Regions from separate parts of the Homo sapiens genome. Here region 2 is linked to region 1. The links are contacts of gene promoters, found by promoter capture Hi-C in human tissues and cell types (Jung and others, 2019). All regions are on one chromosome and are shown on one strand. The core of a region is centred on a gene start or on the middle of the fragment in contact, and the rest is flanking DNA. Distances in the headings are between cores, read along the strand shown.

Region 1 (6,440 bases), core at 2,578-5,077:
AAGGAACCCAGGTTTAAGAACAGAACGGGAGGCTGCAGACCAGTGTTCGGAAATACCAGCTGTCTCTGGTATCTCGCCTCGCGCGCTGTCGCTTTGCTCAATTTCGCAAACTAGATAAGCCTAAGTCCACTCCCCTTCCGCCCAGCATTCTTCCCTGCTCGCTGGGCGTTTCAGGCCGCGGAAAGTACAGGGGAGAGAGTGCCTCTGGTCGCGAACAAAGCCGCCTCTGTCTCCACCGCCTCCCGGAATACAGGGTTGTGCGTCCAGGTTGTACTTAGAGAGCGCAGAGGCAGTCAGCGAGCAAGACAGAAAAGAGTTTTGGAGACATTTGCTCTAGGGAAAATCGTCCAAACTTACACACTCTGGCAACACGTAAAGCTTTTCTTTTCTTTTTAATTAATTCAATGTCACGACAACATTAGTGTAACAATATTTTGTGGGTTTTTTTTTTCTCTTTTTCTTAAAAAGGGACTCAACCCAGGCAGAGGTGAGGGAGATGAGGGGAAACAAACTATCACAGAACAACAGGTGTACCGACAGAAAGAAAACAGATTGGGTGACAGAGCCAGGAGCCCTGCGGAGTAGAGGGTGAACTTTACAAGAAATCTGTACATTTATCAAATAAGTTAAAATTCTGCTAAATTGATTGTCCTTCACTTAAAGCGCTCCAGTATGCCTAACTTACTCCTTTGAGCATCACTACCTAAGCTTGTTTCTTTCTTCCCCCCTTTCCCCTGCCTACTTTTTTCTTTCTAAATGAATGACCATGATTATACAGTGAAAAGGTCTGTTTCCCACGGTGGAGGAGGAAACAGCTTTCTCAGGAGATTTTGTACAATATTGCACAGGTCAACGTACAATAATTACTGCAGAACATGAAAAGTAAGAGGAGAGGATAAAAGATATCATATTAAAAATACTGAAATTACTCTCTCAAAACAGGGAACAAAGTAATAATAGTAATATTAATAATAATTTACAAATGAAATTCTCAAAATAAATGCTACTAATAAATAAGACCACTTAGACCAGGCCAGATATGGAGCTGTTTCAAATAGTCAGAGTTCTGATTTTTGGCTGTCTTTTCTCTTTAGACACTTAGAGAATTCTTCCATCACAAAGTAAGACCGATGAAGAGGCTAATTGCAACAGACCTCTCCAGAAGAGAAAAGCGGCCTGAGTCGGGATTCTTATGAGAGGCTGCTCATATTTTGAAAATTAAGGTGGATAACTGATTTGGGGGTTGGGAGGAAGAAACATACCCAGAAATCCAGAAATAAAAGTACTATCATATGAATTCTCTCCCTCTCTGGATTCTGAAAACAGTTCTATAGAAAAGGAATAAACTAGGCCGGGCGCAGTGGCTCACGCCTGTAATCCCAGCACTTTGGGAGGCCGAGGCGGGCGGATCACGAGGTCAGGAGCTCAAGACCAGCCTGGCCAACATGGTGAAACCGCGTCTCTACTAAAAATACAAAAATTAGCCGGACGTGGTGGCACACACCTGCAATCCCAGCTACTCGGGAGGCTGAGACAGGAGAATCACTTGAACCCGGGAGGCGGAGGTCGAAGTGAGCCGAGATCGCGCCACTGCACTCCAGCCTGGGCAATAGATAGAGCAAGATTCCGTCTCGGAAAAAAAAAAAAAAGCAGAAAAGAATAAACTAGAGGGATTTAGGTTTTGCGCTTATTTTCCTTCTATAAAAATAAAACCAAAAAGCCACCGCGCAATGGAAATTTGGAAGGGAGGGCTGCACATTTTACAAAAACTATCGGCCGAAATCTCTGACCCGAAAATTTTGTCTTGTTCCTGCTTTCTCTTAATATAAGCCAAAAACCAAAAGTAAGAGGGGAAGCGCCTCCAATCCATTAGGGATGAATTGCACGAAAATGCATTGCAAATACTTACAAAATGCTACCGACTGGGGGAGGGGAAGCAGAGGCTGCGCGCCCAAGCCCCAGTTCCTGAAGGCCGCTGGACTTCTCGGCGCCCTCGGCCCGGCCCAGTCTCCTCCGGGGTCCGGACAAGGAGGCCGGGCGCTCCCTCCCCCACCCCTCTGGGGCCTCAGACCGGCCGTAGCAGCGGCACGGAAGAGACCACCGGGTGCGAGTAGTAGACGGGGTGCGGGAAGGTGAGCAGCGGCTGGCTGACTGGCACCGGGGCCCCCGCGGCTGCAGCCGCCGCGCCCTCGGCCGCCGAGTTCTCGTGGTAGAGGATGGGCACCCGCACGATGCGCTGCGCCGCGGCATGGCTCAGGTTGGCCGCCTCCAGCTCCGCCGCCAGCTGCCGCTTCCACTTGTTGCGGCGGTTCTGGAACCAGATCTTGACCTGCGTCTCGGTGAGGTGCAGGGACGCGGCCAGGCCGGCTCGCTCCGAGCTGCTCAGATAGCGCTTCATGTCGAAGGTGGACTCGAGCTGGAAGACCTGGCTGCGCGAGAAGACTGTGCGCGTCTTCTTCTTGCGGCACGCCGGCTTCTTCTCTGGACTTTCAGCGCCCTTCTTCCAGTCTTCTGCGCCCGGAGTGGCCGCCGCCGCCCCTACGCTCGCCCCGGCCGCGCCTGGCGCCGCTTCGCCTTCCTTTTTGCTTTCCTCGGAGTCGCTCTCCTCCAGAATGATCTCGTCCGGGCTCTTGGAGTCCAGCTCCTTGTGATCGGGGTCGGCCTTGAGCAGTGGCTCCGGAGAGTCGCGGTCTGTGCCGGAGGCGGGGGAGGAGTCTCTCAGCAAGGCCTTCTCCGAGGCTGGGGAGACAGACAGACGGACGCACACACATGCACACCGACACAGCCTTGAGCGAGGCCCGGCGCCTGGGGACGGCAGGCTCAACCCGCGCCGGCCTCCAGGTCCCAGGCCATGAGGCCTCACCATTCCCGCGGGCTGCCTCCTTCTCGGCTGGGCCAGAGAAGGGACGCCGAGTCCTGGGATCCCCCTCCTCCCGAGGACAGGCAAGCAGATGGTGGTAGCGCGGCCACCTCCTTCCATTCCCTCAGCTTCCTCGCCAGGGGCCGGCAGAACGGTTCCCTTTCGGCTTAGGCGCATTGGAATCACCCCCTCCTTCCAGGCCGTGTCCCAAGCCCCGGCCGTCCGAAGCCTCCCTATTCACGCCCGAGGCCACTTTTCCCGGGAAGCACCGTGCCCGGGGCTCCAATTCCACTTCTTTTCTCACCAAGTGGGATTGGATTAACGGGCAGCGCAACCCAGCGCGAGGGCAGGCTAGGGGCCGAAAAAAACTGACCGAGCAGAGGGTTTGCGGGTGCTGGGGTCCCAGAACTGCGGAGGGAAGCAGCGCGGGGCGGGGACGGGGCGGGCGCGCAGGGGGACAACGAAAGTTCAAAGAGAGGTCGGTACCTTCAGGTCGCGGGAGGTGGCCGCCGGCGGGGGTCAGGGTGTAGGGGTACCACCAGGCTGGGGAGCGCTCCAGGTAGTGCGCGGGCAGGGCAAACCTCTGCGCCGGGATCTCAAAGCGAGGGAAAGCCAGGTCGCCCACCTGCGAGAGCGCGAAGCCCGCGGCGCCCTCCAGGGCCCCCTTGGCCGCCGCGGCAGCGGCAGCGGCGGCGGCGGCGGCAGCCGAGGCTGGCGCGAAGAGCGTCCGTGGGGGCGGCTGAGGCTTAGGGGGCGGCCGGTGGTGGTCTCCGTTGAGCAGGTTCTTGATGGAGAACGGGGACTCCTTGGGAGCGGGTGGGGGGGGCGGCGGCGGTTGGGGCTGTGCGCTGGCGGTGCCGGCAGCGTCCGGCCCGGGTTCCGGCATGGTCCCCTCTCCTCCGGGTCCCCGGGAGGGAGGGAGCGGGACAGGCGGGCGGCGGGGCGAGCAGGCGAGAGGCCGGAAATCAGACCATAAACGGAACTCAACTACGGGGCGCAAAGTCGGGGGCCGCCCCGGGCGCAAATCCAACGGCGGGAGGGCGGAGTGAGGACCCAGACGGGCGGGCTCGCATGAGGGAGGGGTGCGGAGGGGCGGGGAGCGGCCCTGCCGCGGCACCGAGGGATCGAGGCGGCTCGGCTGCGGCTGCGGCTCCCGCGGAGGAGGCAGCAAGAGCAGTCCCCGGCTCGAGGCTGCGTCAATCCGGCGCCGGATGCTAATGATGAAATCAAAATGTCATCCAAGTTAAATGCGGGGAGTATACGGCGATTGGGCGCGTACAATGGCAAATGGGATTAGGCAGGCGAAGGCTCAGCCGAGCCCCGGCCCCGCAGCCGCCTCCGCCACCGCCCCCTCCTCGCCTTCCCTCGGATTTTGGCGCTTTGGCTTCGGGCTATAAGAGCCCGCCCGTTATTGGCTTTATATAGTCCAATTAGGCAGCAAATGAGGACAAGCCTATTAGCACAAAAGGATATTGGCTCCCGCTAAAGAGGCACTCGGAGCGCTCCTGCGAGCGCAGGAGGCGAGCGAGGGACGCGGAGCAGGCGGCGCCCTTGGCCGAAGCGCACTAACGGCCGCGAGCCCGGAGACCGCGCCTGCCTCTCCCCCCTGCGGCGCAGGGACCCGCTTCCCGCCGCCAGGCCTGCGGGAGGGGGGAGGGGCGGACCAGGCCCTCCCGGGTCACCTCGGGGTTATCTGCGCTCGCAGCTGCCGCTCCCCCGCCCCCTGGGGCTGGACAGGGGCCCGCCGCCCCCACGCAGCTGGAGAGCCACGCAGCGCCGGCCCAAGAGGCAGGACGTGACCTCGGCCCTCGGAGAACTCATCATTTTCCTACCCTTTGGGGTCCGGCGACCTCGGTATTTTTCCTAAAGCCTGCTAGGAAGGGCGAGGCCAAGAAGAGAGGGATTTGGGTTCCCCACCCACCATCCAGCCGATAGTAAGGGAATCCAGGTGTAAGTCCTCGCACTGCGTCTTCGGACTCAGAAATCCGCGTGGCCTTGGCCTTTAGCCCTGGAAAACCGAAGAGTGAGCCTTCCCCCGGGACCAGGAGTGGGTGTGCCTGTGTGCGTATGCGCGCTGACCCGGCCAAAACCCGCGCGTCACTCGGTGGGGCTGCTGGGGCAACAGCTTCTCGGCACCGACGGCTGCTCTCGGAAGGGCACCCCTCTGCTCTGGCCGCCGGTGCCCAAGGCTCGCGGATCAACTCCGAGTCTGTGACCCCGACGACAGCACTTTCTCCCAGGAAGTCTCTCCGGCCAGCTGGCGTTTGGAGCTGTCTAACTAACGCTTTAATGGGGGCAAGGTGAACCGAAGGCGCAGCGGCGTAGCTTCCTCCGCCGCGGCAAGCAGCGGCATCCGCTGCGCGTCTCGACGGCAGCGAAGTCCTTAGAGAACCACACTGGACCTTTGCAGAACGGCTTAGTGAAAGGACATTCCACTCCACTGGCTTTAAAAACAGCTCCCCGGTTCGCACGAGAAGCCCATGAGGCAGACATTTAAGACTCATGATTTAAGCATCAAGTAAATCAGAATTGTTTGTGAGGTCCCCTCCCGAGAGACAGCTTTCTTATCAGAGAAAGGTGACAAACTGGCCTCACCCTCTTCCACCCTGGTGAAGCTCCCGCACACGAGGGCTTTTTGGGATCCCTTCACCTCCCCACCGCTTTCTTTTTCGTTAGATTGAGCCTCGCCTAATTCAAGGCCGCCCTGCATTGGCAGACGTGATCGTGTGGGGTCCCCACTTGAGAGGTAGATTTTGTTTTTCGGTCCTGGGGCGTCAGACCCTCCCCCACCAAATCTCGACGGGCATATGTAATGTTTCTTTCTGCATTCATCTACAGCAGCGAACCCCATTTTTGCTTTGGAAATCTGGAAACGTAAATGGCGCTTCCATAAACAATTACTGTTATTACTCCCTTGAGTTTACACAGGGCTTTACTGGAATGCAAAACGCTACGCCATCCAAAATCTGGGTTGGAACGGATCACTGCCCTGAGACCCCAGCAGGGTGGGTCTCATACTTGGATTTTGTAAGTGGAAACCCGCGCCCAGAGAGGAGGAAACTGGGCCTAGGTCGCCCAATCGCTGCTGGATACCCAGAGGTCATTTTCCCCCAACCGCAGAAATAGCTCGATGCACGTAGGTCTATGAGGGTTGGGTGGGCACCGCCTGCACACAGCCTGCCACGCGGCCGAGTATGCGTGGAGAGACCCCGGCGTGTATGCCTGTGTGTTTTGGGAGCTTCGCCATTCAGCGCAGACGCATGCAAACTTGGCTAGAGTTCTGACGCACGAAAGTCGACTTTAAACTGGGAATGCTGAGGGTTCAGTCTGGGGAGGGGGACTCGTGGCTGATCACAACTCCAGCGCTAGACTCAGATGGGGAGGGGACAGGCCCAGTGTGGCGGGAGAAGAGTCCGGGACAGCCGCCCGCATCCCTGCTGTGCGGCTACCGGATCCCGGCTTTCCGGTTGTCGCCCCAAGTTCTCCGGTTGACTCCCCTCCCAGGGGCGCGCAGGGGCGCTGTTATGTGCTTGTGTTTGGCCCGGGAGAGGAGCTTCTCCAGTGTCAGCACTCTCAGCCC
Region 2 (6,655 bases), core at 595-3,094, 200 kb before region 1:
AGACCTCACCTTCCTCACAATAACAGCTGAGACAAACCCCAAGCTCCTGACATGAAATGCCCACCAAGGACCCATAGTATTTGCACAAATCAGAAAGGAGAAACTATACAGACAAGGAAAAGGGCCAGCCACAGTAGTTGTTAAAAAATGCTCATCTCACACCAGTTAGAATGGCAATCATTAAAAAGTCAGGAAACAACAGGTGCTGGAGAGGATGTGGAGAAATAGGAACACTTTTACACTGTTGGTGGGACTGTAAACTAGTTCAACCATTGTGGAAGTCAGTGTGGCGATTCCTCAGGGATCTAGAACTAGAAATACCATTTGACCCAGCCATCCCATTACTGGGTATATACCCAAAGGACTATAAATCATGCTGCTATAAAGACACATGCACACGTATGTTTATAGCGGCACTATTCACAATAGCAAAGACTTGGAACCAACCCAAATGTCCAACAATGATAGACTGGATTAAGAAAATGTGGCACATATACACCATGGAATACTATGCAGCCAAAAAAAAATGATGAGTTCATGTCCTTTGTAGGGACATGGATGAAATTGGAAATCATCATTCTCAGTAAGCTATCGCAAGGACAAAAAACCAAACACCGCATGTTCTCGCTCATAGGTGAGAATTGAACAATGAGTACACATGGACACAGGAAGGGGAACATCACACTCTGGGGACTGTTGTGGGGTGGGGGGAGGGGGGAGGGATAGCATTAGGAGATATACCTAATGCTAAATGACGAGTTAATGGGTGCAGCACACTAGCATGGCACATGTGTACATATGTAACTAACCTGCACATTGTGCACATGTACCCTAAAACTTAAAGTATAATAATAATAAAATTTTAAAAAAATGCGAATTGAAAAACTAAAAATAAAACATTTTGCCTATAAAAGTAGTAGAAATCTCATGAATAAGAGCTCCAAACACTGAAGAGGCTGTAATAAACTTTCATATTTTGCTTGTGGGAAAATAAATCGACACACTTTTTTTAGGAAACAATTTAGTCATATATAACGTATGATATATAATTTAAGAAACACTCACCTTTTGGACTGACAATTTTTTTAGGGGCGCTAACCAAACCAAATAATCCAAAGTTTTATGGCACATACATGTAAAAAAATAGAATAAAATACTAAGCACATGAAAACTGTTACTGTAAAATTGTGTGATTCAATTTTTAAAAAATTAAATGTACATATTATAAACACACATAAGAAAAAGAATAAAAAGAAAAAGAAAAGCTTTAAAACCCTTACAGTGACATTCTTTAAGTAATTGTATTATTCTTACTTCTTTTATTCTTAGGTTCTTATTTGACCTTTCTACATTTTAATTTTATAATCAAAAAAGAACTAAGCCATTAATGCCATGTTTATAAAGCACTTGTGATACCATGTAAATAGGTATGCTATTATATTAGTGAGGGAAGAAAACAGAAGGATACTAGGAATATGATTTCCATTTTTGTACTTAAAAAAAGGCATCAAAATTTTATAGTAAAATGGGTAACTACTTTTTTTCTACTTTTTTTTCCTTTTTTTGTTTTGAGACAGAGTCTCACTCTGTGGCCCAGGCTGGAGTGCAGAGGTGTGATCTCAGCTCACTGCAACCTCCGCCTCCCGGGTTCAAGCAGTTCTTCTGCCTCAGCCACTATTGTTTTCATTTGTCTAATACAGTGACACTATTTTCATAATTTCTTTAGAAACTTTATAATTTTGCAAAGTGGCTTTATTAACCATAAAGTAGCCGTACAAAGAAAACTAAAACTGCTAGATGGATGGGCTACCCGAGGAGCAGGAGCACTCTGACCTGAGGCCTCCTCCCTGTGCTTAAAAATAGAAACAAACAAAATCGTGTTAAGAAATGTTAGAAAGGTGTTAAAGACATGTTAGCACAAACTGAGCCTTTTTCCTCAACTTGATTAGAAAATTCCAGAGAAGGATGAAAAGAGAGTATTTTCCTTACCATGTGCACCTGTTTCCGGGAACCTCTAAAATCAACTGTCATCTCCACCCTGTAGGAGACACTGGCAGGGCCATTAGGCTGGGGACCATTTGCAATATGTGTACATCGGTCCAGCAAGTCCAGGCATCTGAAACTAAGTGTTCTCACCAGAGCTGAGCAAACAGGTTGCCTTTTCTCTCTTCCATCAGAATGCAGAATTTCCATCCCAAAGGGGAAATTGTTCTCCCACTAGGAGGGAAATGCAATACTGTGGAATGCAGTGAAACTGTCAGCAAGTTTTCTTTTTTGGTTGTGCCTTTGTCAGGTTTTGGTATTAAGATGATGCTTGGCTCATAGAATGAGTTAGGGGGGGAGTCCCTCCTCCTCAATTTTTTTGGAGTAGTTTCAGTAGGAATGGTAACAGCTCTTTTTATACGTCTGGTAGAATTCGGCTGTGAATCTGTCGGATCCTGGGCCTTTTCTGGTTGGTAGGCTTTTTATCATTGATTCAATTTCAGAACTCATTATTGGTCTATAAAATGGTTTGGCTGTGTCCCCACCCAAATCTCAACTTGAATTGTATCTCCCGGAATTCCCACATGTTGAGGGAGGGACCTAGGGGAGGTAATTGAATCATGGGGACCAATCTTTCCTGTGCTATTTGCATGATAGTGAATAAGTCTCATGAGATCTGATGGGATTATCAGGGGTTTCTGCTTTTGCTTCTTCCTCATTTTTCTCTTGCCACCACCATGTAAGAAGTGCCTTTCGCCTCCCACCGTGATTCTGAAGCCTCCCCAGCCATGTGGAACTGTAAGTCCAATTAAACCTCTTTTTGTTCCCAGTCTCAGGTATGTCTTTATCAGCAGCATGAGAAAAGACTAATACAGTAACTCGGTACCAATAGACTGGGATGTTGCTGTAAAGATATCCGAAAATGTGGAAGTGACTTTGGAACTGGGTAACAGGCAGAGATTGGAACAATTCGGAGGGCTCAGAAGAAGACAGGAAAATGTGGGAAAGTTTGGAACCTCCTACAGACTTGTTGAATGGCTTTGACAAAAATGCTGATAGTGATATGAACAATAAGGTCCAGGCTGAGGTGGTCTCAGATGGAGATGAGGAACTTGTTGGGAACTGGAACAAAGGTGACTCTTGTTAGTTTTAACAAAGAGACAGGCCGCATTTGGCCCCTGCCATAGATTTGTGGAACTTTGAACTTGAGAGAGATGATTTAGGGTATTTGGTGGAAGAAATTTCTAAGCAACAAAGCATGCAAAAGGTGATGTGGGTGCTGTTAAAAGCATTATATTTTAAAAGGGAAACAGCATAAAAGTTCAGAAAATTTGTAGTCTGATGATGCAGTAGAAAAGAAAAAACAATTTTTTGAGGAGAAATTCAAGCTGGCTGCAGAAATTTGCATAAGTAGAAAGGAGCCTAATGTTATCCCCAAGACCATGGGGAAAATGTCTCCAGACCATGTCAGAAACCTTCACAGCAGCTCCCCCCAACACAGGCTTAGAGGCCCAGGAGGAAAAAGTTGTTTTGTGGGCCAGGCCCAGGGTCCCCCTGCTGTGTGCAGCCTAGGGACTTGGGGCCCTGTGTCCCAGCTACTCCAGCTGTGGCTGAAAGGGGCCAACATAGAGCTCAGGCTGTGGCTTTGGAGGGTGGAAGCCCCAAGACTTGGCAGCTTCCATGTGGTGTTGAGCCTGCGGGTGCACAGAAGTCAAGAATTGAGGTTAGGGAACCTCCACTAGATTTCAGAAGATGTATGGAAATGCCTGGATGCCCAGGTAAAAGTTTGCTGCAGGGGTGGGGCCCTCATGGAGAACATCTGCTAGGGCAGTGCAAAAGGGAAAGGTGGGGTCAGAGCCCCCACACTGAGTCCCTACTGGGGCACTACCTAGTGGAGCTGTGAGAAGAGGGTCATTGCTGTCCTCCAGAACCCAGATTGGTAGATCCACCAACAGCTTGCACTTTGCGCCTGGAAAAGCCACAGACACTCAAGGCCAGCCCATGAAAGCAGCCAGGAGGGAGGCTGTAGCCTGCAAAGCCACAGGTGTGGAGCTGCCCAAGACCATGGGAATCCACCTCTTGCATCAACATCACCTGGATGTGAGACTTGGAGGCAAAGGAGATCATTTTGGAGCTTTAAAATTTGCCCTGCTGGATTTCAGACTTCCATGGGTCCTGTAACCCCTTTGTTTTGGCCAATTTCTCCCACATGGAATGGCTGTATTTACCCAATACCTGTACCCGCATTGTATCTAGGAAGTAACTAGCTTGCTTTCGATTTTACAGGCTCATAGGCGGAAGGGACTTGCCTTGTCTCAGATGAAACTTCAGACTGTGGACTTTGAGTTAATGCTGAAATGAGTTAAGACTTTGGGGGACTATTAGGAAGGCATGATTGGTTTTGAAATGTGAGGACATGAGGGGTGGAATGATATGGTATGGCTGTGTCCCCACCCTAATCTCAACTTGAATTGTATCTCCCAGAACTTCCATGTGTTGTGGGAGGGACCCAGGGGGAGGTAAGTGAATCATGGGGGTCAGTCTTTCCCACGCTATTCTTGTGATAGTGAATAAGTCTCACGAGATCTGATGGGTTTATCGGGGGGTTCCGTTTTTGCTTCTTCCTCATTTTTCTCTTGCCACTGCCATGTAAGAAGTGCCTTTCAACTCCCACCATGATTCTGAAGCCTCCCCAGCCATGTGGAACTGTAAGTCCAATGAAAGTTTTTTTGTTTCCAGTTTCGTGTATGTCTTTATCAGCAGCATGAAAACAAACTAATACAGTCTATTCAAGGATTCAATTTCTTCCTGATTCAATCTTGGCAGGTTTTATGTTTCTAGGAATTTACCCATTTCTTCTAGGTTTTCTAGCTTATGTGCATATAGGTATTCGTAGTAGTCTCTGAGGATTTTTTCTATTTCTGTGGGGTCAGTGGTAATGTCCTCCTTTGTCATTTCTGATTGTGTTTATTCAGATCTTCTCTCTTTTTTTCTTTGTTATTCTAGCCAGCAGTCAATCTATCTTATTAATTATTTAAAAGAATAAACTACTGAATTTGTTGATCTTTTGCATGATTTCTCATGTCTCAATGTCCTTCAGTGCACCTCTGATTTTGGTTATTTCTTTTCTTCTGCTAGCTTTGGGATTGGTTTGCTCTTATTTCTCTATTTTTTTCAGTTGTGATATTAACTTGAGATCTTTCTTTTTGATGTGGGAGTTTAGTGTTATAAACATCCCCATTAACACTGTCTTAGCTGTGTCCCAGAGATTCTGGTATGTTGTATCTTTGTCTTCATTAGTTTCAAAGAATTTCTTGATTTCTGCCTTAATTTCATGATTTACCCAAAAGTCATTCAGGAGCAGGTTGTTTAATTTCCATTACTTGGCGTATACCCGAAGGATATAGATTGTTCTATCATAAAGTCACATGCACATGTATGTTAATCACAGCACTATTCACAGTAGCAAAGACATGGAATCAACCTAAATGCCCATTAATGATAGACTGGATAAAGAAAATGTGGTACATATACACCACGGAGTACTACACAGCCATAAAAGAGAATGAGCTCATGTCCTCAGCAGCAACATGAATGGAACTGGAGGCCATTATTGTAAGGAAACTAACACAGGAACAGAAAACAAAATACCACATGTTCTCACTTAGTGGAAGCAAACATTGAGTACATATGGACACAAAGAAGGGAACAACTGACACCAGGGCCTACTTGAGGGTGGAGGGTGGGAGGAGGGTGAGGATCAAAAAATGACCTATGGAATACTCTGCTAATTACCTGGGTGATAAAACAATCTGTACACCAAACCCCCGCGACACACAGTTGACCTGTAATAATAAACCTGTATATGTACCCCTGAACCTAAAATCATATTGTAAAAATTAATTTACTAATTAACTACTTAATTTTAAAAAAAGAAACTGTCAGCAAGACCAAGGTCTCCTGCATGGGTACTGCAGGCATTTCAGTAGACGGTTCAGATCGTTTTGGTGGAGAGTCACAGGACAGGGAATAAAGGTGGTAGCCCAACTAGGAAAAGGCAAACATACTGGAAAGCAAACACACACACGAAATTAGGCAAAAACTTTGCAAAAGAAACACCCTGAGATCCCCCCACTTTTTTTTTTTTTTTTTTTTTTTTTTGGAGACAGAGTCTCGCTTCATCACCCAGGCTGGAGTGCAGTGGCGTGATCTCAGCTCACTGCAACCTCCGCCTCCCAGGTTCAAGCAATTCTCTTGCCCCAGCCTTCCAAGTAGCTGGGATTACAGGCACCTGCCACCATGCCCAGCTAATTTTTTTTTTTTTTTTTTTTTAGTAGAGACAGGGTTTTGCCATATTGGCCAGTCTGGTCTCAAACTCCTGACCTCAGGTGATCCACCCACCTCAGCCTCTCAAAGTGCTGGGATTACAGGTGTGAGCCACTGCGCCCAGCTGAGATTCCGCATTTCTAATTTCAGCAGCAGACTGCCAGATGACCTTCAAATCCTTGCTTTATCTATCATACCTCAAGTCTTTGATCCTGTGCCTTACATGGCCCCAAATTCATCCTCCTCCCTCCTTGGGCCCCTTCAGCCCAGCGCACTGCATCACTGAACTCCTGACCCCAGGGGAGCCTTGTGGATCAGGGTCTACACTGAGGAGTTATACCCAGAG

What was found. The method cuts DNA at HindIII sites, captures the fragments that hold promoters and counts their contacts. A contact is called where the count stands out against the background at its distance.
Region 2: a fragment that was not itself captured here is called in contact with the fragment with the promoter of HMX3 in region 1 in 1 of the 25 tissues and cell types used here (lymphoblastoid cells).

Annotation. Positions count from the first base shown.
Region 1 is chr10:123,133,357-123,139,796 of GRCh38, reverse strand. It overlaps HMX3 (H6 family homeobox 3), which reads right to left and starts at 3,827. Exons shown (of 2, transcript NM_001105574.2): 1 at 3,347-3,827; 2 at 374-2,739. The coding sequence starts at 3,746. The coding sequence ends at 2,066. RefSeq lists silencers at 3,399-3,448, 3,459-3,868, 3,919-3,998, 4,379-4,508, 4,539-4,658 and 2 more and enhancers at 1-474, 1,515-2,479, 3,662-4,612. The HindIII fragment of the contact is 9,325 bases long and covers 544-6,440 here.
Region 2 is chr10:123,334,376-123,341,030 of GRCh38, reverse strand. No RefSeq gene overlaps it. Among named protein-coding and RNA genes, the nearest start is that of LINC02641, 10 kb to the left of the region's middle. The HindIII fragment of the contact is 5,290 bases long and covers 1-4,489 here.